Linked DNA regions of Homo sapiens: all the other regions are linked to region 1. The links are contacts of gene promoters, found by promoter capture Hi-C in blood cells and fetal thymus (Javierre and others, 2016). All regions are on one chromosome and are shown on one strand. The core of a region is centred on a gene start or on the middle of the fragment in contact, and the rest is flanking DNA. Distances in the headings are between cores, read along the strand shown. Region 1 holds the start of SYTL2 (synaptotagmin like 2). Region 2 has its middle 18 kb from the start of EED. Region 3 has its middle 5.0 kb from the start of MIR6755. Region 4 has its middle 14 kb from the start of LINC02695. Region 5 overlaps EED (embryonic ectoderm development).

Region 1 (4,732 bases), core at 1,741-4,240:
CCGCCTCCCGGGTTCAAGAGATTCTCCTGCCTTAGCCTCCTGAGCAGCTGGGACTACAGGCGCATGCCACCACGCGCAGCTAAGTTTTGTATTTTTAGTAGAGATGGGGTTTCACTATATTGGCCAGGCTGGTCTCGAACTCCTGACCTTGTGATCCACCTGCCTCGGCCTCCCAAAGTGCTGGGATTCCAGGCATTAGCCACTGCACCCGGCCTGATATTATTATTAATGTTAATCTGGATCTTATATTTTTTTCTACAATGAATATGTTTAGTTTTGGTAATAAGAAAATAAAGGATATTTTTATTTTTAAAACATTCTTCATTCTGAAAAATGGGAAAAAAGTGGATGTCTCCCCAGGGACTAGAGAAGCTCTATTACTGTGAACCAGAGAGTGGAAAATTCAAACAGTAGTCTAAGCCCTCTAGAACCTTGGTCCTACTTCTCCATCTGGGTACTCGAAGCCCCTAAGAATATATAACAATCTGCCAGGACACCAGTTTTATTCAGATATTTTGAAGAAAAAACTTTATATTTTTAAATCAAAGTCCATATATTATGAAATCAAATGAAAAAAATTGCATAAGCACAGGAGCATGTGTTGGTCTTCTTTTCCATTGCAGGATCTTCTATGGAAAAGTTTGGTAAGCCCTAAGACAAACATTATAATCTTATCCCCCCAACTTTTGAGAGAGTGACAACCTCATTAATACCAAGTAAGTTTTCCTCTTAATTTAAAAAAAAAAAAAGCCACATTTTTCTTCATCTACTGTATGTTTAAAAATTCTTTGTAAAACAGGTGACAAGCAAACATATTTCCAGGGAGCTCTGGAAGCCTATACAGGCACAGTTCACCCTACCTCCCTTGCCCAAAGAGGAGAAACACCTAGACTAGCATCTGGGTTTTGAAGATGGTGGAACCTGGGCTTCCCCTAGGCTGCCTCACATTTCTACAAGGCAGCAGACCACTCTGCACAAGGTGCTAATTCATTCATTCCACAAATGTTTATTGAGCAAAACCTGAAAAAGGCCTCTTAGGGGACAGTGGAATCATTCACCAGCCAACGGTTAGGGCTAACGGGTCAGATGTGGACAATCAATCTTTCATTAGACCCCAAACCACCTCTAGGATAAAGCAAACAGGGCCCTGCCCCACCCACGCACTAGCAGCTGGGCAGGATTAGGGTAGGCCTTCTAGAACAGTACTGCTGCTGAGAGGCTAAGGCAGTCACAGATTACCTCCAGAATAACGGAAACTCCTGCACCATAAATGACATAATAGCTCTAAGATGTTTTGCATAGTGCCTGACACCTGGTGAGAACACAATGTTAGACATTTTTGCTCTCCTTATTCCAGCTTGCTCTTACTTAAGGAGCACAAAGACAGTGTAAAGAACACAGGTTTTAGAATCAGAGATTGGATTTGAATTCCAGCTATGCTACTTCCTAGCTAAGTGACTAAAGGAAGCAATCTTTCTGAGCCTGTTTCTCACCTATAAAATAGGGTATAGTACATCACCCCTCATGTGGCTTTGTGAGAATTAAGGATATATTACATACAAAGAAGTGTCTGGCCCATAGTAAGTGCCCACTAAACAGCAGTCAACATTGCCCTGCTGCCGTCCCCACACCTCTTCTCCTTCCTAGCTGCTCTTGATGGGTTCTGCAATCTGATTTCACCTGGATACCACACTAAGGGTGAGAAGGGGCAGAACTTCAGGGGTGGAGGAAAGTGAGGGAAGGGAAATGCTGGAGACCTTCCATAGAAATCCAGCCAAGTCCTCAGCTCCTTTCAATCATCCTACTCTATCTGGCTGCTCCATCCAGCAGACAGCAGGGGTCACCATCCTGGTGGGGAATGGCTGCCAACAAGGGGACGGGAAGCTGGATGGCAGTTTGCATCCACCCCACCTTCCAGGGTCTATCTGTCTGAAGCCCCACCGGGCTTCCTCTGCACATCCCTGCCGGGCTGTGTGGCTCAGGGGGCTGACAGGGTGATTCATAGCCTGTTCTTATCTAGGCTTCTATCTCAACCCTGCGCCCAAAGCCCTGGAGGCTGCTGGTCACAAACCAGCACTAAATGAAAAGAAGAACTTTTCATTAAGGCAGGAAGTGGAGCCCCTCAAGGTCAAAGGGGATTTATAAAGAGAGGAGGAAAGAAAGGGAAGACGCGGCAGGATGGGTGCAGAGAAAGAGAGACCCACTTCCTATATGCTGGTGGAGCCCTGTGTCTTAGACGCTAAAAACAGTCGCTTTTCCACTTCAAAGGATGATAAAGCCCACTCGTGTAGTTTATAGCTCGCCGTGGGACGAGGTGTGGGTATGGAAGAGAATTCCAAAACACGTCTTATTTTCAAAGGAGAAATCATCATCCCCTGGCCGGCCCTTCCCAACACCCCACCTGTAAACAGGTGCTGACGCTCCTACCTTTCTGCACCTGAGCAATCTGGGGGCAGTTACTCTGCAGCCAGGTCTCCCCAGCACCCAGCCCCAAGCCCAGGTCAGTCCCTGAAAGCCCTAGAAAACGCGATAGCTCAGCAGAACCCTCGCCTACCCGGGCATCCCAGCTTCCTGGCCGCCTGGGCAGCGGAGGTGGCTCTGGAGTAGGTGGGAAACTGAGGAAAGGAGCTTTCCCCGTGCCAAAACGCAGTTCCCATTTTAGAACTGGTTAGACTAAGGAACAACATTCTACACCACCTCCCTCACTTAACAGAGGAGGAAGCAGAGACCAAGAGAGGGAAACAAAGTTGCCCGAGGTAACACAGCGAGTGGGCCAAGTAGAGACTGGAACCCGAGTGCGCACCTCCGAGTCGCTGCCGGGCAGGGAGCGCGCCTCGCCGTCTCTCTTGTCTTCTGGCCCCCAGCCCTCGGCCTGGCGGTGCAAACCGCGCAGCCCCGGGCGCGGCGCGTTACCTTCCCCCGGGCAAGGCGTTGCGAGCCTTCACTCTCCCGACGGACGCTGGCGGCACGGCCCGGGTGTCGCCCGGCACTGTCAACGCAGAGCGGCGTGCGCGAGTCCCTCCCCGCTACCCCCGCCCCCGGCGGGCGGTGCGGTGGGGCCGGTCCCGGGTGCTCGGGCCAATGGCGCTTCGCCCGCTCCCCGCCCCGGCCCGCCCCGGCCTCCTCGCCCGGCACACAGCGCCTGCCAGCCCCTGCCCTCTCCCCTTCCCTCCCTTCGCCCTCCGCCCCCGCCTGCTGCTTCTCTCCGGTTCCTAGCCTCCTTCTCAAGTGTACCTTGCCCCGAAACAACCTGTTTTCTGTGCAAATAAAGCAGCACTGTTGTTATTGTTATTATTATTTTTATCACGGCGCGTTAGGGGGCCTTGGAGCCCGAGAGTGTGGAGCACTAGGAGCCTCTGCACTCCGAGAAGGGACAGCCACCGCGCAGGGAAAGGGGCGCGGAGGGTATGGAGCCCGGTCATGGGGTAACTTGCTTTAACCCTCGGGACGTCAATTTCCTCACATGTGAAATAGAAGAAGGGGGGAAAAAAGTTGTTGAGAGGACTAAATGAAGTGATGCTTTAAAATACAATAATACCTAGAGAAAGGTGAGGGCGTCATGCACTGCCTGAGCTACTTACTGGGGTATGCACAGAGGACTGGTAAGCTCCTGGAAGACGCTGTGTGGCAGGGAGGCAGACAATGCAATACAGTAAATACAATATTGTGGTCGGGCGCGGTGGCTCACACCTGTAATCCCAGCATTATGGGAGGCCGAGGCAGGTGGATAACCCGAGGTCAGGAGTTCGGGACCAGCCCGGCCAACATAGCAAAACTCTGTTCTAATTAGAAAAGAAAAAAGAAAAATTAGCTGGGTGTGGTGGCGAGCGCCCGTAGTCCCAACTACTTAGGAAGCTGAGGCAGGAGAATCGCTTTAACCCGAGAGGTGGAGGCTGCCGTGAGCCAAGATCGCACCACTGCACCCCATCCTGGGTGACAGAGCAAGACTCTGTCTCAAAAAAATAAATAAAATAATTTAAAAATTGTATCACGACCTATTTTTTACAAGTTACCCATGATGGGGCCAGCCCAGGCAAACCTCTGAAGGAGATGAACCTTAAAGCCTTTTTCCTTATCATTTCCTGGACTAGTGTTGTCCATTTAACTGAGGGTGGCCCAGGTCTGCCTTTGGTTCTTCCAAAGGTCTTCCTTCTCCCAAACTTACAAATACTTATCCCCAAGGGCTTCAGTTAGTGCCCAGTGCAGGCTGCTAGCCTGGCCCAAGAGTCCTGGCACTGTGCAGAGATGTGTATTCTGGCTTCCTTCAGCCTTTGAGAGCCTGGTGTGTCCCTGTGCTGGGTGAGCATGCCACATGCAAAAGAGGAATAAGCCACTGGTCTTGCCTTTGAAGAAACAAATTTGTAAATAATTTCATTTTAGGGTAAGTGTTATAATAGGTTGACAAAGTGTTGTAGAGTCACTACGCTGAAGGAGGGGGACAATAAAAAATACAAATGTGACCAAGGTAGGTCTTGAAGGAGGGCTACAAATTAGGTCAGATTGAAGGGGTGACAGAAGACTGGGCACAGAGAGGCAGGCAGAGACATGGAGATGCCTGTCATATGTCACGGCTATTGCACAGGATTTGGGACAATGAGGCAGAGATGAAGCTAAGGAGGTAGGTGGGCAGATGTTGGAGGAGTGGCTGTACCTGCCTTGCTGAGGGAAGCAGGCTGTGTCCTGTTGGTGATGGCTGTTGGCGAATGATTTTAGGCAGGGGAGTAGCGTGACC
Region 2 (4,758 bases), core at 156-2,655, 410 kb after region 1:
TCCTTAAACCATGTAGAAAAATCAACTGAAGATGGATTAAAGACTTAGGTTTCATGATAAAGACACCAAAAGCAATTGCAACAGAAGCAAAAATTGACAAAAGGGATCTAATTAAAGAGCTTCTGCACAGGAAAGGAAACTATCAATAGAGTAAACAGACAACCTACAGAATGTAAGAAAATTTTTGCAAACTATACACCTGACAAAGGTCTAATAATATCCAGCATCTACAAGGAACTTAAATTTACAAGAAAAAAACAAACAGCCCATTAAAAAGTGGGCAAAAAACGTGAACAGGCACTTTTCAAAAGAAGGCATATATGTGGCCAACAATCATTAAAAAACTCAACGTCACTGATCATTAGAGAAATGCAAATAAAAACCACAATGAGATACCATCTCACACCAGTCAGAACGGTTCTATTTTTTTTTAAGACAGAGTCTCACTCTGTCACCCAGGCTAGAGTGCAGTGGTGCGATCTCAGCTCACTGCAACCTCTGCCTCCCAGGTTCAAGTGACTCTCCTGCTTCAGCTTCCCTAGTAGCTGGGATTACAGGTGCATGCCACTGTGCCCAGCTAATTTTTGTATTTTTAGTAGAAACGGGGTTTCACCATGTTGGCAGGCTAATCTTGAACTCCTGACTTAAAGGGATCCACTCGCCTTAGCCTCCCAAAGTGCTGGGATTACATGCATGAGCCACCACACCTGACCCAGAATAGCTATTATTAAAAAGTCAAAAAATAACAGATGCTAATGAGGTTGTGGAGGAAAAGGAATGCTTATACACTGTTGATGGGAGGATAAATTAGTTCAGCCATTGTGGAAGACAGTGTGGTGATTCCTCAAAGACCTAAAAACAGAAATACCATTCAACAGAGCAATCCCATCACTGGGTATATACCCAAAGAAATATACATCATTCTGTCATAAAGACACATGCACATGTATGTTCATTGCAGCACTATTGACAATAGCAAAGGCATGGAATCAACCTAAATGCCCATCACTGGTAGACCGAATAAAGAAAATGTGGTACATATACACAATGGAATACTATGCAGCCATAAAAAAGAACAAGATCATGTCCTTTGAGGAAACATGGATGGAGCTGGAGGCCATTATCCTTAGCAAACTAATGTAGGAACAGAAAACTAAATACCACGTGCGCTCACTTACAAGTGGGAGCTAAGTGATGAGAATAAATGGTTACATAGAGGGAAAAAATACACACTGGGGCCTATTGGAGGGTGGAGGTTAGGAGGAGGGAGAGGATCAGGAAAAATAACTAATGGGTACTAGGCCTAATACCTGGCTGATGAAATAATCTGTACAACGAACTCCCGTGAAAGAAGTTTACTTGTATAACAAACCTGCACATTTACTCCTGAACTTAAAAGTTACATTTTAAAAACAAAATAACCTAAATACATAGATAAATAAAACAAAAAATGTTATGTGGGCCAAACAAAAAAAAACTATGCAGGCTGAAGCCTGGAGAACACAACTTTATGGCCTTTGATCTTTGTATAATTGATGGATTTGCTCTTAATTTTCAATGTTTTACAAAAATTACAAATGTTATCATTGATCTTTCATGTTCAGTAAGATCAAATGCATCTGGAGTATTAACAATGTTAGTAGGGAGAGACAGGCAATTAGTTTAAAAACAAAAATAGATGTAAAAATTGAAGATGATAAATGTATGTAGTGATGGGATAAATTGTTCAGGAATAATGACAATTCTGAGGAACAAATGTCTGATCATGCAATCACTCATATATCTATGCTATCAACAATAATAAGCAAGAAGAATAAAAAAATTGTCAGAAGGAAAGGCTTTATGGGTGTACAGCTAGAGAAGGAATATTAATGTCAGATGCCAGAATCAAGTTAATTCTGGATAAAAACATCATTTGTTTAGGAACTTGAGGACTGAACATGATAAAAATGCACCTGATGGAACTTTTTACATAGCCACACTTAAGTTCTGTAGTTTAAGGACATCATAGCTGCCAAGGAGATTTCTACACTTGCAGCCATCACCAAAGAGGGAGATTTCCTTCCTAAACATATGTTCAACGTGGTGGAAACTAGTATATGAGAAAAGATAGCTGAGAGATTGTACAGGAAGTAGAATAGAGCATGTCTAGTCTGTGATGTTGAAGGCAAACTAATTTTTTAAAGCAATAATTATAAATGTTTATAATTCAAATAGTATAAAAAAGACACACAGTAAAAACCAACTTTTCCTTCTTTCCTATACCCCCAGTTCCCTGCCTAAAGGTGACCTTTATTAGGAATTTAAATATTTCCTTTCATACACATAAGGGCACATTATACACACTGTTCTGTAACTTTTTTCCCATGTAATATATTTTGGAGATTGTTCTATATCAATTCATATAGATATACCTTATTTATTTTAAAGACTACATTATAGATATACTATAACTTATATAATCAATACCCCATTGATGGATCTATATTGTAGTCTTTTGCTATTACAAACAGTAAGTGTGCTGGTTCTCTTCAGAGAACTTATCTGGTGGAATTCCATCCAGGGCTTGCAAACATAAACATCTCTTAGTTCTTTTGGTCTTGCGAACAAATAAACTTAGAAAGAGCCATTTGGAAATGAACTTGTTTGTTACTAGAGAAGAACTGTGTGGAGAGAGGGCAAATGTGGCAGAATGCCCAGCAGAAAAACTAAATAGAAAATTAGGTCAGGATTGCTTCTCAGCCTTTTGACTAAGATCAAGTATAAAAATTAGGCTGGGTGCGGAGGCTCATGCCTGTAATCCCAGCACTTTGGGAGGCCGAAGTGGGTGGATCACTTGAGGCCAGGAGTTCAAGGTTATAGTGAGCTATGATTGTGCCACTGCACTCCAGCTTGATTGACAGAATGAGACCATGTCTCTAATAATAATAATAATAATTTTAAAATAATTAACAAGATCATAAAGGGCTTCATCTAATAACATAAAGAATTTGACCTTATCCTAAAAGACATGCAGAGCCAGATTGGTGTTAAGCAGAATGACAGGATTATATGGAAAGTTTACTATAACTACAATGAGAATAGATTAGAGGAGAACCAGTAAAGACAGAGAGTGGCCAGAAGAGGGACTATTCAAGTCATCCAAGAAATAATTTATGAGGATTTTAACTGAGGTGATAGCAATGGAAATGGAGAGGAGGCGATATGATGTTAGAAAACCGTGAAGGGATAACATCTACAGACCTTTGGCTGATCTGACAGGGGTCTGATTGGATGGGCAGAATCTAGGATGAATACCAGGTTTCTGGATTGGCTCACTTAGTATTAGTCACCACATCAGAAAGGAACAAGTACAGGGGGAAAGATGATTACTTGTGTTTTGGATGTTTGACCTTCTGGGGCCTACAGGTGGTTATATCCAATAGGCGGTAGAATATATAGGTCCAAAGCTCAACAAGAGCGCTACATACCAAAAGCAGACATCCACGTATGTATATGACGGGTGAAACTGAGAATGGAACAGGCCACCTGAGGATTACATAACCTTAATAGGACAAAAGGAAAAGTGGGGAGAACTCTAGAAAAAGAGACCTTTAGGTGGGAGGCAAAGCAAAAGGAGCCAAGGAAGGAAGACAAGGCCTTGGATGAACATTCAAAAATGAAATAAAACTTACATTGGCATAATAAAGGTTTCAAAGGCAGATATTCTTATCAGAGTCTCATGTGATTGGTGACTTAAGCTCTTAGATGACTAGCCCAGGTTTGCTCCGCTTTTAAAATAGCCAAGCTGAGAGTTTAACCCAAGGCTTTCCCAAATTCTAGTGATGATTTTTCCACCTTACTGGCTCCAAATTCCTTATTATCCATAGGAATTTAAAAAATAAGGTCACAAACTAGAAAACCAAGAATTTGAATAATAAGGTCACAGACTAGCAAAACCAGGAAAGCAGAGATGGGAAAGAGATGATACCAGTACAGTACCAACCTCATCAATAACTCCTATTCTCAGGTTTTTGCACGTTAGGAAATAACGTCTCAGAAAAGTTAAAATAACAAAACCACAACCCCAAAAAAAACCCTACCATAAAATCCTAAAACTCCAATTTTCCTTCTTCAGCACTCACATGCAAAGAAACATTAACTCTGCATAGGGATGTGTATGCTCAGGATTTTAATAATAAAGCCATCAGAAACTAATATTATCTTTTTCTGTACTATGGTCATTAGAGGGAGAACCATGAGGCTACTTAAGCCTTGTTCTACCTCACAAAATGTTCTTTGTTTTATGCAAATGTACTGGCTGTGGGAGATATTAGATGTCATTTTCATGAGTATGACATGAGTAAGTGTTAGAGGTAAGTTGACAATCTCCTTGTAAAGATATTAGCAAAACAGTATTATTATGACCCCGCAACACCTTAGAAATATTTTCACTATAATCCATCTTGTGATAATTACACCTGTTTTACTGGAATTTGACCTGAAAGAATAGAACTTGGTCAACAAGTTTCCAATCTTGTTGAAAGGGTACATTTTTGCAGCTGACATGAAAAAAAATTTTTTTAAGTAATGTGTAGGTTGGGCACGGTGACTCATGCCTGTAATTCTAGCACTTTGGGAGGCCAAGGTGGGAAGATCACTTGAGCCCAGGAGTTTGAAACCAGCCTGGGCCACATGGCAAAACCCCATCTCTACAAAAGATAGAAAAAAAAATTAGCCAGACATGGTGCTGTGTGCCTGTGGTCCTAGCTACTTGGG
Region 3 (4,788 bases), core at 1,574-4,073, 470 kb after region 1:
TGTCCTTCATTCTGGTAATATGGTGAATCACATTTATTAATGTGCATATGTTCAAACATCCTTGCATCCCAGGGATAAATCCCACATGGTCATGGTGGATGATTCTTTTAATGTATTGCTGAAGATGATGGTTTGCTATTATTTTGTTGAGTGTTTTTGTATTTACGTTCATCAGGGATATTGTTTCTGCTAGTGTCCTTGGTCTGGCTTTGGTATCAGGCTAATACTGTCCTCGTAAGATGAGTTTGGAAGTATTCCTTGCTCTTCATTTTTGGGAAGAATGTGAGGATTGGTATTAATTCTTTAAATGTTTAATAGAAACAGAAAAGTGCCGTCTTGGGCTTTTCTTTGATGAGAGACTTGGTGTATTAACAGTTGTAATATTTCCTCTTTCATTTCTGATTTGAGTCCTTTTTTTCTTATTAAGTGTTGCTATAAGGGTTTGTCAATTTTGTTTAGCTTTTTGTTTTTTCATTTTTTTATTTTCTATTTCATTTATTTCTGCTCTGATCTTTGTTATTTCCTTCCACTAACTTGAGGTTTAGTTTGTTCTTTTTCTAGTTCCTTGAGGTGTTGAGGTTTAGGTTGTTGGTTTGCGATCTTTTTTAATGCAGGCATTTAATGCTATAAACTTCCCTCTTAAAACTGTTTTTGCTGCATCCCATAAGTTTTGACATGTGTTTCCATTTTCATTTGTCTCAAGGTATCTTTATATATGTTTCTAGAGTCGGGGTCTTGCTATGTTGTTCAGGCTTAGAGTTCAGTGGCTATTCGCAGGTGCAGTTATAGCTGTCACTGCACCCTCGAACTCCTGGGTCCAAGTGATCCATTCCTGCCCCAGCTTCCCAAGTAGCTACGACTGTAGGCATGCATCACTGTGCCAGGCTTTCAAGACATCTTTCATTTTCTCTTGTAGTTTCTTTTTTGACCCAATAATTGTCCAGTATATTTCTTACACAGTGTCTTAGGAAAGATAAAACCAGCTTTGATATGTTGAGTATTATGTTTCCGAAAAGACAAGACAGGGTTGTTTTTCTTAACTTTATACTTGAAAGTTTCAAACATATAGAAGAGTGAAGAGAGTAGTGAATACTATGAACCAAGTCAAGCTTCAACAATTATCAATACATAGCCAATCTTGATTTATCTATACATCTACACCAGATTGTTTCGAAGCACATCCCAGACTTTATTTTAACTGTAAAAATTTACTCTATATTTCCAAGAAAGACTTTAAACAAAATATCAATACCATGCTCACCCTTTAAAAAGTAATTTCTAAATTATATATGCAGTTTATTTAGAAGTATAAAGAAAAAAGTAAAAACTACCTTTAATTTTTGTACACAGAAATAATTGCTTTTAGTGATGGGATGTATTTTGTGTGTGTAAGTTTAAAGAATTGTGATTGTCTGAATATATTGTTTATATGCTGCATTTTCAGATTCCCAGTAATTCTTAACAGATTATTCTGCTTGCATATCTTTTAATACATTTCCATGAATGTACCATTATCTATTTAATGCCTTGTTGTTGGACATGTTCATTTCTTCCAGATTTTTGCTATTATAGGTAGTATTTTGAATAACAGGCCAGTACACAAGTCTTTGTGTAACTCTCAGGCTCATTTTATAATTAGATAGGATATTTCTTTCTTATTAAGTTTGTACCAAATTACACTTGCCCCAACACATATGGTAGTACCCATTCCAGTTTTGTTGTTACTAGTTTCCTGTATATTATCTCTGCAGATCAGGGTGTTTTTTCTGTAAAGAGCTAGATAGTACATATTTTAGGCCTTGCCATACAGTCTCGTCATAACTATTCAACTCTGCTGCTGTAGGGCGAAAGCAGCCGTAGACAACTGGGTATGGCTGTGTACCAATAAAACTTTACTTACCAAAACAGGCAGTGGTGGAGCATAGTGGCTCATGCTTGTAATCCCAGCACTCTGAGAGGCTAAGGTGGACAGATTGCTTGACCCCAGGAGTTCAAGACCAGCCGGGGCAACATAGTGAAACCCCACCTCTACTACAAATACAAAAAAAAATTAGCCAGGCATGATGGTGCATGCCTGTATTCTCAGCTACTTGGGAGGCTGAGGCAGGAGGGAAAAAAAAGAACAACAAACAACAGGCAGTTGGCTAGATTCTGTCCACAAGCCATAGTTTGATAACCCCTTCAGTGGATACTAGTTATTAAAGCAAAACAAACAAAATAAGTCTTAAGGAGGCCCCTAAAGTTGTTGAAGATTTAAGTCAACCGAATAGTTTATAATCAAAGATCACCAGATTGACAATGAAGCAAGCTCTATGGCTGAGGGTTGAAACAATAAAAAATAAAAAAATAAATAAAAATAGACCACCAAAGACTTTAGATATTGCAATTTTCAGGTAATATAAAACAGCCACCTTATTTTAAAATTGCAACTCTCCTTCCTCTCTGTACTTTCTCCTTGTTTTGTTACTCTCCATTTCAATTATCACCTACTATACTGCGTAATTTGCTTATTTGGTTTATTGTATTTCTTCTGCTACTGTGATGTAGTCTATATGAGAGCAGGGTTTTTATTTCACTGCTATAACCCCAGCACCTAGAGCAGTGCCTTTCATGTAACAGGGGTCAGAATTAAACAGTCATAAAAATAAGCTAACAGTAAGAGGCTATGATGACTGACGAGGTGAATATGAGAGGGAAACAAATAGAACTTTTACAAATGAAAAATACATTTGTTGAAGTAAAAAATTCAACGGACGGGTTAGATTAGTCACAGCTGAATAGAAATTAGTGAATTGGAGGTGATCTGTAGAAATTACCAGAATGTGGCACAGAGAATCAAGAAAATGGAGAATATGAGAGGTTAAGAAATATAGAGGATAAAATGAAAAGATCTAACAATATATTTAATTGGAGATCCAGAAAAAAAAAAAAAAGAGAATGAAGTGAAGGAAATATTTGAAGAGGTAATTATCTTACTTGCTACCAGGATACTTGAGTGCCATGTGGGCATGTATGATAGAGCTAGGAGAAATAGCAGGTGGTTCTGGCATCTTCCTTACCATCGTGTCTCCCACTTTGACTGCAGTCGTGACCACTGATGTGCCAGTCTGCTTCAGTCTCTACCAAGCCCAGAACTTCACCCTCTATCGGGTCCTGAGGAAAAGCAGCTTCCACGGTTTATTTCAAGCTGGATGAGGATCCAATTGATGCCATATCCCTGTTGTAGCCTTTTGTGGTGAGACAAGGCGCTCATCAGGACAGCAGATTCTTCAAAGCCTTCCACACCAATGTGAAGGACAGTAAGATGTGGAAGTTCCTGGGTTTTGTTTTTGGACAATGGGAACCAAGGGTGGCATCCCTACACTCCATAGTGTAGGGCCTGACACGATGTAAACTCCCTCCTCCAGTAATCATTCATCAAGAGTTTCAGTGTTGTGATAACCTGTGAGTTCTCCACATAGTGGCACATCATGGACCTCATTTCCTTCCTGGATTACAACTGCACCTTGGACAGTGAGGGCTCTTTTGGAAGTGCACACCTAGCTGACCTGCCCTCCAACTCAAAAGTGGACAAGACCTGTTCAGAGGTGTTAAGCACCCCCACACTCAATGTCCATTCAGGCCAAAAGTATGCTCTTTGCCCCAAGGGAACCAAAGTCATGATGACATATGCCAGAGCTTGGGTAAAGGATACAGTGAGGATTCTTGGATTTCAGAACAAAGTATTCCTGGAGCCCCCTGTACTTCATGAAGCCTATGTCCAGCTTGTTGTCAAAGAAATGTAGATTAATTCAAAAGGAACACAGGATTCTATCGGTCCTTTTCCTAGTCCTGAAGACAAGGTCAGCTATGTAATATCCAGGGCCCAGTGCAAAATGAAAAGGCAAACTCCTTGGGCCGGGTGCGGTGGTTCATGCCTGTAGTCCCAGCACTTTGGGAGGCTGAGGTGGGCGGATCATCTGAGGTCAGGAGTTTGAGACAGCCTGGCCAACATGGTGAAACCTCGTCTCTACCAAAAATACAAAAGTTAGCTAGGCATGATGGCATGTGCCTGTAATCCCAGCTACTTGGGAGGATGAAGCATGAGAATCACTTGAGCCCGTGAGGCAGAGGTTGCGGTGAGCTGAGATTGTGCCACCACACTCCAGCCTGGGCAACAGAGTGAGACTCTGTCTCAAAAACGAAAAACCAAAAAACAGAAAAGGCTGGGCACGGTGGTTCATGCCTGTAATCGCAGCACTTTGGGAGGCCAAGGCAGGAGGACTGCTTGAGCCCAGGAGTTTGAGACCACCCTAAGCAACATAGCAAGACGCTGTCTCTACAAAATATTTGAAAATTAGCTGGGTGGAGTAGTGTGCACCTGTAGTCCCAGCTACTAGGGAGGCTAAGGTGGGAGTATCACTTGAGCCCAGGAGGCTGAGGCTGCAGTGAGCTGTGATCACACCACTGCAATCCAGCCAGGGTGACAGAGCAAGACCCTGTCTCAAAAAAAGAAAAAAAAATTAAAAGGAAAAATTAGGTTAAAGGTACTAACTATAAAGCTTTTTCCATCCTTTAACAATTTCTCAACTGGTCGTGGTTTTAAATTTTGCTACTTAATGCCATTCTAAGTAAAGTAAAATTGTTAGCATGAATTTTATTATTCATTTTCATATTGTGTAATGATCATTTTATTTTTTTGAGACAGAGTTTCGCTCTTGTTGCCCGGGCTGGAGTGCAGGGGTGTGATTTCAGCTCACTGCAACTTCCGCCTCCCAGTTTCAAGAGCTTCTCCTGCCTCAGCCTCCT
Region 4 (4,313 bases), core at 59-2,558, 400 kb after region 1:
TCAGCATCCCAAAGTGCTGGGATTACAGGCATGAACCACCACACCCAGCCACAGCTCAGTATTTTAAAGCCACCTTTTCCCTTTTTGAGCTCCTTGAGCCAGTGTCTGGATGGTAAAGGAATATTTTGAACTGATTTGGACCTAAGGCTATCCAAGTATTTTAAGCAGAAGAGTGATAGGGCCTGTTGTTGCTCTTTTAACTCTAGACACACAGCATCTTGCTATGTCCTGTGAGCTCTACCCCATATGTGTCTGGCCCAGAGAAAGTCCTCAATAAATATTTAGTGAATGGCATGGACTTGCTACTAATTGTTAAGCACAGGAATGTTTTGTTTAGTCTATATTAGGTGAGTATAATGCTACAAGAAAACTGATTTCATAGAAACCTACAAGAATTTACTCTTCTCTTTTATTTATTGTAATAAATGTCCACTAAAATTATGTTATTTACCAGCCATCCAAATGTAAAATTAATCTTTTTTTTTAACAGTATCTCAGACATACACATTTAAAGCATACACATTAAGGAATAAGACAATAGAAAAGACACCCAAAGAAGTAGAACCAACTAAAATATAAAAACAAAATAACAAACAGTTTACCAATAAAGTGGTATACGTTTGCGTAACATCAATACAGAAACAGTAGCTAAGATGATTGCAAAAATGGAGTTAAGCAATACAAAGCTGCTTACAAGACTTGTACGTGTAAATTCTTGATCGTAATTGAACTAATGGTGGTGAAAATAAAGTTAAAATTTCCTGCAGATGTCAGGCGTGGTGGCTCACACCTGTAATCCCAGCGCTTTGGGAGCCTGAAGCAGGAGGATCGTTTGATCCCAGGAATTCTAGGCCGCAGTGAGCTATGATTGCGCCACTGCATTCCAGCCTGGGTGACAGAGAGAGAGAGAGACAGTGTCTCTAAATAATAAATACATACATAAAATATTAAAAAGAAATAAAAGAGATTTCCCATGGGAAACTTCATCATTTGCCTGCCATTCTAAAGTTGGAGTGGGGGGCAGAATAGGTAAGCTTTGGGTCCAGTTTATCATGAGAGAATGCATTAAGCAAACAACAGTTGAACAGAGTGTGGCCAGCTGGTACAATATGTCACAATGGTGCCATCATGAGACAAGGCCACGTAATATAAAAAGCGAGGAAGGAAATACAAACTCCAAGTAAAGACCAAATTGCTAAGGGCTGCAGGGCCTCCCAGACTACTCTTCATTCACAGCATAGGCTTCAAATGTGCCTTGTGAATGTGCATATGTAACATCTGAATGGATGTGCATTCTAAGTTAAAGTCAACACACATTTAAATCTGTACAGTTTTAGTTATTGATATGAACTTTCAGCCTCAGATTTTAGAATGATTTCTTCATGCTTAACAACATCACCAGATAACAAGAAGCAGCAAGCAAAAATGGCCTTTATGGTATTATAAAAAGTAAATATCTTTGTCTTATCTTTGTCCCAGATTCCTGGCACACAGCTCCCGAAACATTTTGGAATCCTGGGAATGATAAGGGTAAGACTATATTTTGCATGCTAATTAGATGTCTGGTGGCTGACGGCCCCTAGCAAGCTTCAGCATAGGGGCTGGAAGCCAAAAAGGCCAAGTCTTGATTAGAAACTTGGAACTTTCATCCCCATTCTGCTGGGGAGGGGAGAGGGGGTAGAGATTGAGTTCAATCACCAATGGTCAATGATTTAATGAATCATGTCTACTTAATGAAACTTGCATAAAAACCCATAAGCTGGCCGGGCGCGGTGGCTCACGCCTGTAATCCCAGCACTTTGGGAGGCCGAGGTGGGCGGATCACGAGGTCAGGAGATCGAAACCATCCTGGCTAACACGGTGAAACCCCGTCTCTACTAAAAATACAAAAAATTAGCCGGGCGTGGTGGCAGGCGCCTGTAGTCCCAGCTACTCAGAAGGCTGAGCCAGGAGGATGGCGTGAACCCGGGAGGCGGAGCTTGCAGTGAGCCGAGATTGCGCCACTGCACTCCAACCTGGGCGACAGAGCGACACTCTTTCTCAAAAAAAAAAAAAAAAAAAAAAAACCCATAAGCAATGGAGTTCAGAGAGCTTCCCAGTTGGTTAACACATCCGCATTCTGGGAGGGTAGCACACCCCAGCTCCATGGTACAGAAGCTGTTATGCTTGGGACTTTCCTGGGCCTCGTCCCTATACCACTCATTGGCTCTTCATTTGTATCCTTTAAAATACAAATATAAGTAAAGTGCCTTCCTGAGTTCTGTTGGCCAGTCTAGGAAATCATTGAAACTTAGGAGGGGGTTATGGGGATATTTGATTTATGGCTGGTCATATAGAAGTACAGGTGATCTAAAATAGCATGGTACTGGCATTAAAAACAGACATATAGACCAATAGAACAGAATGGAGAGTCCAGAAATAATTCCACACATTTATGGTCAATTGATCTTTAACAAAGGTGCCAGGAGCACACAATGAGAGAAGGGCAGACTATTCAATAAATGGTATTGGGACAATTGGATATCCACATGCAAAAGAATAAAACTGGACCCTTGTCTCACACCATATGCAAAAAAAAAAATCAACTCAAAATGGATTCAAGACTTAAACATAAGACCTGAAACTGTAGAACTACTAGAAGAAAACATAGGAAAAAAGCTTCTTGACGTTGTCCTCAACAATAACTTTTTTTGGTTATGACCCTAAAAGCACAGGCAGCAAAAACAAAAATAGACAAACGAGAGTGCATCAAACTAAAAAGCTTCCTATAGAAAAAGAAACAATCTATGGAATACAAGCTATGTGCAGGAGAAAAAAGACAAGAAACAACCTATAGAATGAAAGAAAGTATTTGCAAGCCATATATCTGATAAGAGGTTAGTATTCAAACTATGCAGGGAATTCAAACAACTCAATAACAAGAAAACACATAACCAGATTTAAAAATGGGCAAAGGGTCGGGTGCAGTGGTTCACGTCTGTAATCCCAGCACTTTAGGAGGCCGAGGTGGGCAAATCACCTGAGATTGGGAGTTCAAGACCACCCTGACCAACATGGAGAAACCCTGTCTCTACTAAAAATACAAAATTAGCTGGGTGTGGTGGTGCACGCCTGTAATCCCAGCTACTCAGGAAGCTGAGGCAGGAGAATCTCTTGAACCCGGGAAGCAGAGGTTGCGGTGAGCTGAGATTGTGCCATTGTACTCAGCCTGGGCAACAAGAGTGAAACTCCGTCTCAAAAAAAAAAAAAAAAAAAAAAAGAGAAAAGAAAGGCAAAAGACCTGAATAGACATTTCTCAAAAGAAGACGTATGAATGGCCAACAGGTATATGAAAAAATGGTCAACATCACTAATTATCAGGAAAATGTAAGTTAAATTAAAACCACAATGAGATATCACCTCACACATGTTCGAATAGCTATCAAAAAGACAAATGATAATACATGTTGGTGAGGATGTGGACAAAGGGGAACCCTTGTACAATGTGGGTCAGAATGTAAATTGGTACAGCCACTATGGAAAATCACGTAGAGGTTCCTCAGAAATTAATAATAGGACTACCTTATGACCCAGCAATCCCACTTCTGGATATATATCCAAAAGAAAGGAAATCAATATATTGAAGAGATATCTGCATCCCCACAATCATTGCAGCATTATTCACAACAGCCAAGACAGAAAATCAATCTAAGTGTCCATCAATGGATGAATGGATAAAGAAAATGTTTTACACACACACACACAATGTAATATTGTTCAGCCTTTCAAAATAAGGAAGTTCTGTCATTTATGACAATCTGGGTAAACCTAAAGGATATTATGCTAAGTGAGATAAGCCAGGCACTGAAAGACTACAGATACTACAGATCTCACTTATATGTGGAACTCATAGAAGCAGAGAGTAAAATGGTGGTTAACAGGGCCTGGGGGTAAGGAGAAAGGAATGGGGAGATACTGTCAAAGGGTAGAGGGTTTCTAACTGTTAGGATGAATAAATTCTGGAGATCTATTGTACAGCATAGTGATGATAGTTAAGAATACTGTATTGTATTCTGGAAAATTGCTAAGACAATAGATTTTAAATGTTCTCACTACAAAAAAGTTGTATGTGCAGTGATGGATATGTTAATTACTTTGATTTAATTATTTCACCACATATACATATATCAAAACCTCACATTGTACACTGTAAATATATATCATTTTTATTTGCCAACTATAGCTTAATAAAGCTAGGGGAGGGTGGAGAAGTACAGGTGATCTGATATTGCACGTAGCATCTGAAATGAGGGCAGCCTGTGGCTCTGAGCCCT
Region 5 (4,358 bases), core at 820-3,319, 450 kb after region 1:
CTCAACAGAACAAACAAGATTAAATCCAAGGCACCAGAATAATCTTCCTTGGCTCCATGTTTTGCCTTCTGGGCATGCTGGGTGTGGAGTTTGGGCCCCAGAGGCCTTGGGCAGCCCCATCTTTATGGGTTTGCCACGTGCAGCCCACATAGCATCTTATGAGTTGGAGTCGGGTGCCTGCAGCTCTTGCAGGCTGGTGGTGTGCCCTGGTAGCTCAGCAGTTCTGGGATTTGGGGGATGGCTTTTTCCCCATGGCTCCACCAGGTGTTGCTGTAGTAGGAACTGCTGTGTGGCTCTGCCCTTCTGAAAAGTTTCTGCCTGGAGCCCCAGGCTCTTTGTGATGTCTTTTGAAATCTAGAGAGGAAGCCGTGCCTCCACAGTTCCTGCATTCTCTGCATCTGCAGACTTAACACCACATGGACACTGCCAAGATTTGCTGCTTGTACCTTCAGAAGCTATGGCCTGAGCCATACTTGAGCCCCTTCAAGCTATGGGGTGACCAAAGAGCACTGCCTTGGAATAGGGGGAGCAAAGTGCTGAAGTGGCCCTGGACAGTGAATGTAGAGGTCCCATGGGTGCTACTCTGGAAACCTTGCCCTCAAGGTCTTAGCTATGTCTTGAAGATCTCTGAAATGCCTTTGTGGTCATTATCCCATTGTCTTGGTGAATAGAACCTGCCTTCTCTTCCCTATTAATCTCCTTAGCAATTAGTCACTTAGCTACATCCTTAATATTCTCTCTCAAACATGCTTTTTTATTTTATATATTTTTTGAAGAGACAAGGACTTGCTATGTTGCCCAGGCTGGTCTTGAACTTCTGGGCTCAAATGATCCTTCCACCTCAGCCTTCGAAAGTGTTGGGATTACAGGTGTGAGCCACCACACCCAGCCTGCTTTTTTTTTCTTTACATGGCCAGGCTGAGAGTTTATAAATGTTTCTGTTTTGCTTTCCTTTTTAATTACAAATTTCACCTTTAGATCATTTCTCATTTTATGATAAGCAGCCAGAAGAAGCCATGCATCACTGTGAATGCTTTGATGCTCAGATATTTCTTCTGCCAGGTATTGGATTCATTGCTCTTAACTTCTGCCTTCCACAAAGTCCTAGGGCATGGACACAGTCCTGCTAAGTTCTTCACAACTGTATTGCAAGGATGGCTTTTATTTATTTATTTAATTTATTTTTTTGAGGCAAGGTCTCATTCTTGTCACCCAGGCTGGAGTGCAGTGGCACAACCTCTGCTCCCTCACACCCTCTCCTTCCCTTTTGCTGTGAGACGATTCAGCATGAAGGCCCTCACCGGATGCCGGCACCATGCCAGTGATCCTTCCACTTCAGCCTCCCGAGTAGCTGGGACTACAGGCACATGCCACCACACCCCGCTAGTTTTTGTATTTTTTGTAGAGATGGAGTTTCACCATGTTGCCCAGGCTAGTCTCGAATTCCTGAGCTCAAGTGTCCACCCACCTCAGCCTCCCATGCTGCTGGAATTACAGGCATGAGCTACCACACCTGGCCTGGCTTTTTTTTTTTTTCTTTTAAAGACAGGGTTGGTCTCTGTCACCCAGGCAGTGCAGTGGCATGATCATAGCTCACTGCAGCCCAAAACTCCTAGGCTCAATTGATCCTCTTGCCTCAGTCCCCTAAGTAGCTAGAACTGCAGGTACACGCCACCACACCTGGCTAATTTATTTTCTGTAGGGATTGGGTCTCACTATGTTACCCCGGCTGGTCTTGAATTCCTGGCCTCAAGTGATCCTCCTGCCTCAATCTCAAAGTGCTGGGATTACAGGCATGAACCATCACACCCTGCCAACAGGGATAGCTCTTACTCCATTTTCCAATAACTTCTCATTTCTGTCTGAGACCTCACTGAATGAGACCAACCTCATTCTGTCTGAGACCAACATTGTTCTACCAACATTCTGATCACAACCACTTAAGTAATCCTTAAGAAGATAAAGGCTCTGCCTGAAGCTCTTGTCTTCTTTTCAGCCCTCACTGGAATTACCCTCAATGCTCCACTCACACCAATATAGGCTTTTTCTAGCCTGCTCCTCCAGATTCTTCCAGCCTCTCCTCGTTACCCAGTTCCAAAGTCATTTCCACATTTTCAGGTATTTATAGCAATAGTCCCGTTTCTGAGTACCAACATTCTGTCTGAGTCCATTTTGTGCTGCTATAACACAATACCACAGACTAGGTGACTGACTGATGGATTAATTAATTTCTTTTCTATTGCTCAGGCTTCACTAATTTTTAAATTTTTTGTTGAGACAGGGTCTTGCTATATTGCTAGGGCTAGTCTCAAACTCCTGGGCTTAAGCAGTCCTCCCATCTTGGCCTTCTGAAGTGCTGGGGTTACAAGCATGAGCCACCGTACCTGACTGGGTGATTTATAATGAACAAAAATTTATTTGGCTCCTGTTTCTGGAGACTGGGAAGTCCAAGAACATGGTGCCGGCATCTGGTGAGAGCCTTCATGCTGAATCGTCTCAGCAAAAGGGCAGGAGAGGGTGTGAGGGAGCAAGAGATTGAATTTATAGCCTCAGGCCCTTTTATAATCAGTATTAATCCATTTGTGAGGATGGAGCCCCCATGACCTAAATACCTCCCATTAGGCCCCAGCTCACACCACTATTGCATTGGGGATTGAGTTTCTAGCACATGCTTTTGGGGGGGCCTATTCAAACTATAGCACTTACCTAGCTAATTCTACATCTGATGTAAACATTTTAAGTTGCTATGTAATATGGATTCCATTTTTAGGCTTTACTGTGCATAACTTACATCTAGACTTTAGTAGTTTTTCTTTCACAAGATGTTGAAAGTTCACAGTAAATAAAAAACATTCGCCTAATTTTTGTATGTTTATACTAGATCATGCTTTACGATTATGGAATATCCAGACGGACACTCTGGTGGCAATATTTGGAGGCGTAGAAGGGCACAGAGATGAAGTTCTAAGTGCTGTAAGTTGGAAACTGCAGGGCAATGACTTTCAGGTTTACATAGCTGTGAACAGTCTCCATGGAACTGTTTCCTTATAAGAAAGTGTGTTTCATGTAGCCTGTCAGGCAGACATTCACTTACATTTGACATAGAAGATTTTAATCTCCAGATGAAGGAATAAAACAAGTAAAGACTATATTTATTTATTTATTTTTTAAATTACTTGCACTGTATACCAATCCCTGGAGTCTTATGAGAGCAGTATGATCTTGCTCCTTTCCTTTTAATCTAAAATCACTAAGTTAATGTTTGTTTTGCCATTTCGCAGTTATTAAAGAAAAAAATTAAACTATGTAGCCATTAAAGTGCTTTTCCATCTTTTGTTTGAAGTTGAAACATAACGTTTTTTGCTATTTGGAAGTGTTTTATTGTGCTCACACTGTTTTAGGTAACTTATTTCTAGCCATTCTCTTTGGGTGGCGTGGTATAATACAAGACCAGTTTAAAGATAAATACCACCTTTATATTGATGTATTGTAATCCATTGGTCCATTATACAAGTGTTTTTAGTTAGGTTTCAGATTTTAACATTATTTTTGCTTATGTTCCATATTTAGCTCATTTGATTCCTGTAGTAATTTCACATCTCTTAGGTTGTTTTCCATTAAACTATGTAAAGGGGCACCATATTTTACAGCATGTAACATTTTAGTTGAAGGTACTAAAATATTCCTATGTTGAAGTTTGGATTCCTTTGTGAGAATCATACCTTCCTTCGAATACCTTGTCAACTTGGATTTCCTAAAAGTTGCAGTAGCATTCTACGTCTGGCTTTATGTGTGTAAAAGCCAAGTGAACTGTTCTTTATTAATAACTCCAAATTAGTGGTATTGTCTCGAAGGATGTCTTGTTGCTGTTGACAGTGAGGTAATTAGAAGTACCACAACTGTGAATTCAATAAACATCAAGCCTAAAGTTCTTAGGCTCTTATAAAATGGTGCTCATAATTAATGCAAAGGCTGGATTAACATATAGTATCTAGGTTAGTAAGGAAAATATACTCCTTCAATAGAACTCTCTACTGTTATTTCTTAGAATGAGAGCAGGAGACAGTATGTAGCTCTTCTGTGTAATACAGGAGTTCACTGGAGGTGGATAGGTGTGTGAGATTTTCATTACTCATTATGTGCCTTTTGCTAAATTAAATAGCATCTCTGGGCCTTAGTGTCTGCCTATGAAATGAGGTTGTTACAATAGATGATCTGTTACATGCCTGTTAAAAATTAGTAAACAGCAAATGAAAAAAGTTAAAATCTGTTTTTTATTAGACTTTTAAAAATTCACTTAAAAGTGAACTCTAAAACTAACTTCAAAATATTTTGACTTAGAATTATAAAGTAAGATG

The links. The method cuts DNA at HindIII sites, captures the fragments that hold promoters and counts their contacts. A CHiCAGO score of 5 or more calls a contact.
Region 2: a contact is called between a fragment that was not itself captured here and the fragment with the promoter of SYTL2 in region 1, in 3 of 17 cell types (activated CD4 T cells, total CD4 T cells and naive CD4 T cells). The highest score is 7.7, in activated CD4 T cells.
Region 3: a contact is called between a fragment that was not itself captured here and the fragment with the promoter of SYTL2 in region 1, in 7 of 17 cell types (activated CD4 T cells, non-activated CD4 T cells, total CD8 T cells and 4 more). The highest score is 9.8, in activated CD4 T cells.
Region 4: a fragment that was not itself captured here is called in contact with the fragment with the promoter of SYTL2 in region 1 in 5 of 17 cell types (activated CD4 T cells, non-activated CD4 T cells, total CD8 T cells and 2 more); the score reaches 8.1 in activated CD4 T cells.
Region 5: a contact is called between a fragment that was not itself captured here and the fragment with the promoter of SYTL2 in region 1, in 7 of 17 cell types (total CD4 T cells, activated CD4 T cells, non-activated CD4 T cells and 4 more). The highest score is 8.5, in total CD4 T cells.

What each region holds. Positions count from the first base shown.
Region 1 is chr11:85,808,151-85,812,882 of GRCh38, forward strand. SYTL2 (synaptotagmin like 2) reads right to left here and starts at 2,991. Exons shown (of 20, transcript NM_206927.4): 1 at 2,804-2,991. RefSeq lists a silencer at 2,950-3,129. The HindIII fragment of the contact is 7,624 bases long and covers 1-4,732 here.
Region 2 is chr11:86,224,488-86,229,245 of GRCh38, forward strand. No RefSeq gene overlaps it. Among named protein-coding and RNA genes, the nearest start is that of EED, 18 kb to the right of the region's middle. The HindIII fragment of the contact is 7,356 bases long and covers 1-4,758 here.
Region 3 is chr11:86,280,935-86,285,722 of GRCh38, forward strand. It overlaps a transcript of EED not described here and the pseudogene LOC100289518. Among named protein-coding and RNA genes, the nearest start is that of MIR6755, 5.0 kb to the left of the region's middle. The HindIII fragment of the contact is 3,432 bases long and covers 1,108-4,539 here.
Region 4 is chr11:86,204,949-86,209,261 of GRCh38, forward strand. No RefSeq gene overlaps it. Among named protein-coding and RNA genes, the nearest start is that of LINC02695, 14 kb to the left of the region's middle. The HindIII fragment of the contact is 553 bases long and covers 1,033-1,585 here.
Region 5 is chr11:86,261,291-86,265,648 of GRCh38, forward strand. EED (embryonic ectoderm development) reads left to right here. Exons shown (of 12, transcript NM_003797.5): 7 at 2,882-2,973. Among named protein-coding and RNA genes, the nearest start is that of MIR6755, 15 kb to the right of the region's middle. The HindIII fragment of the contact is 6,340 bases long and covers 1-4,358 here.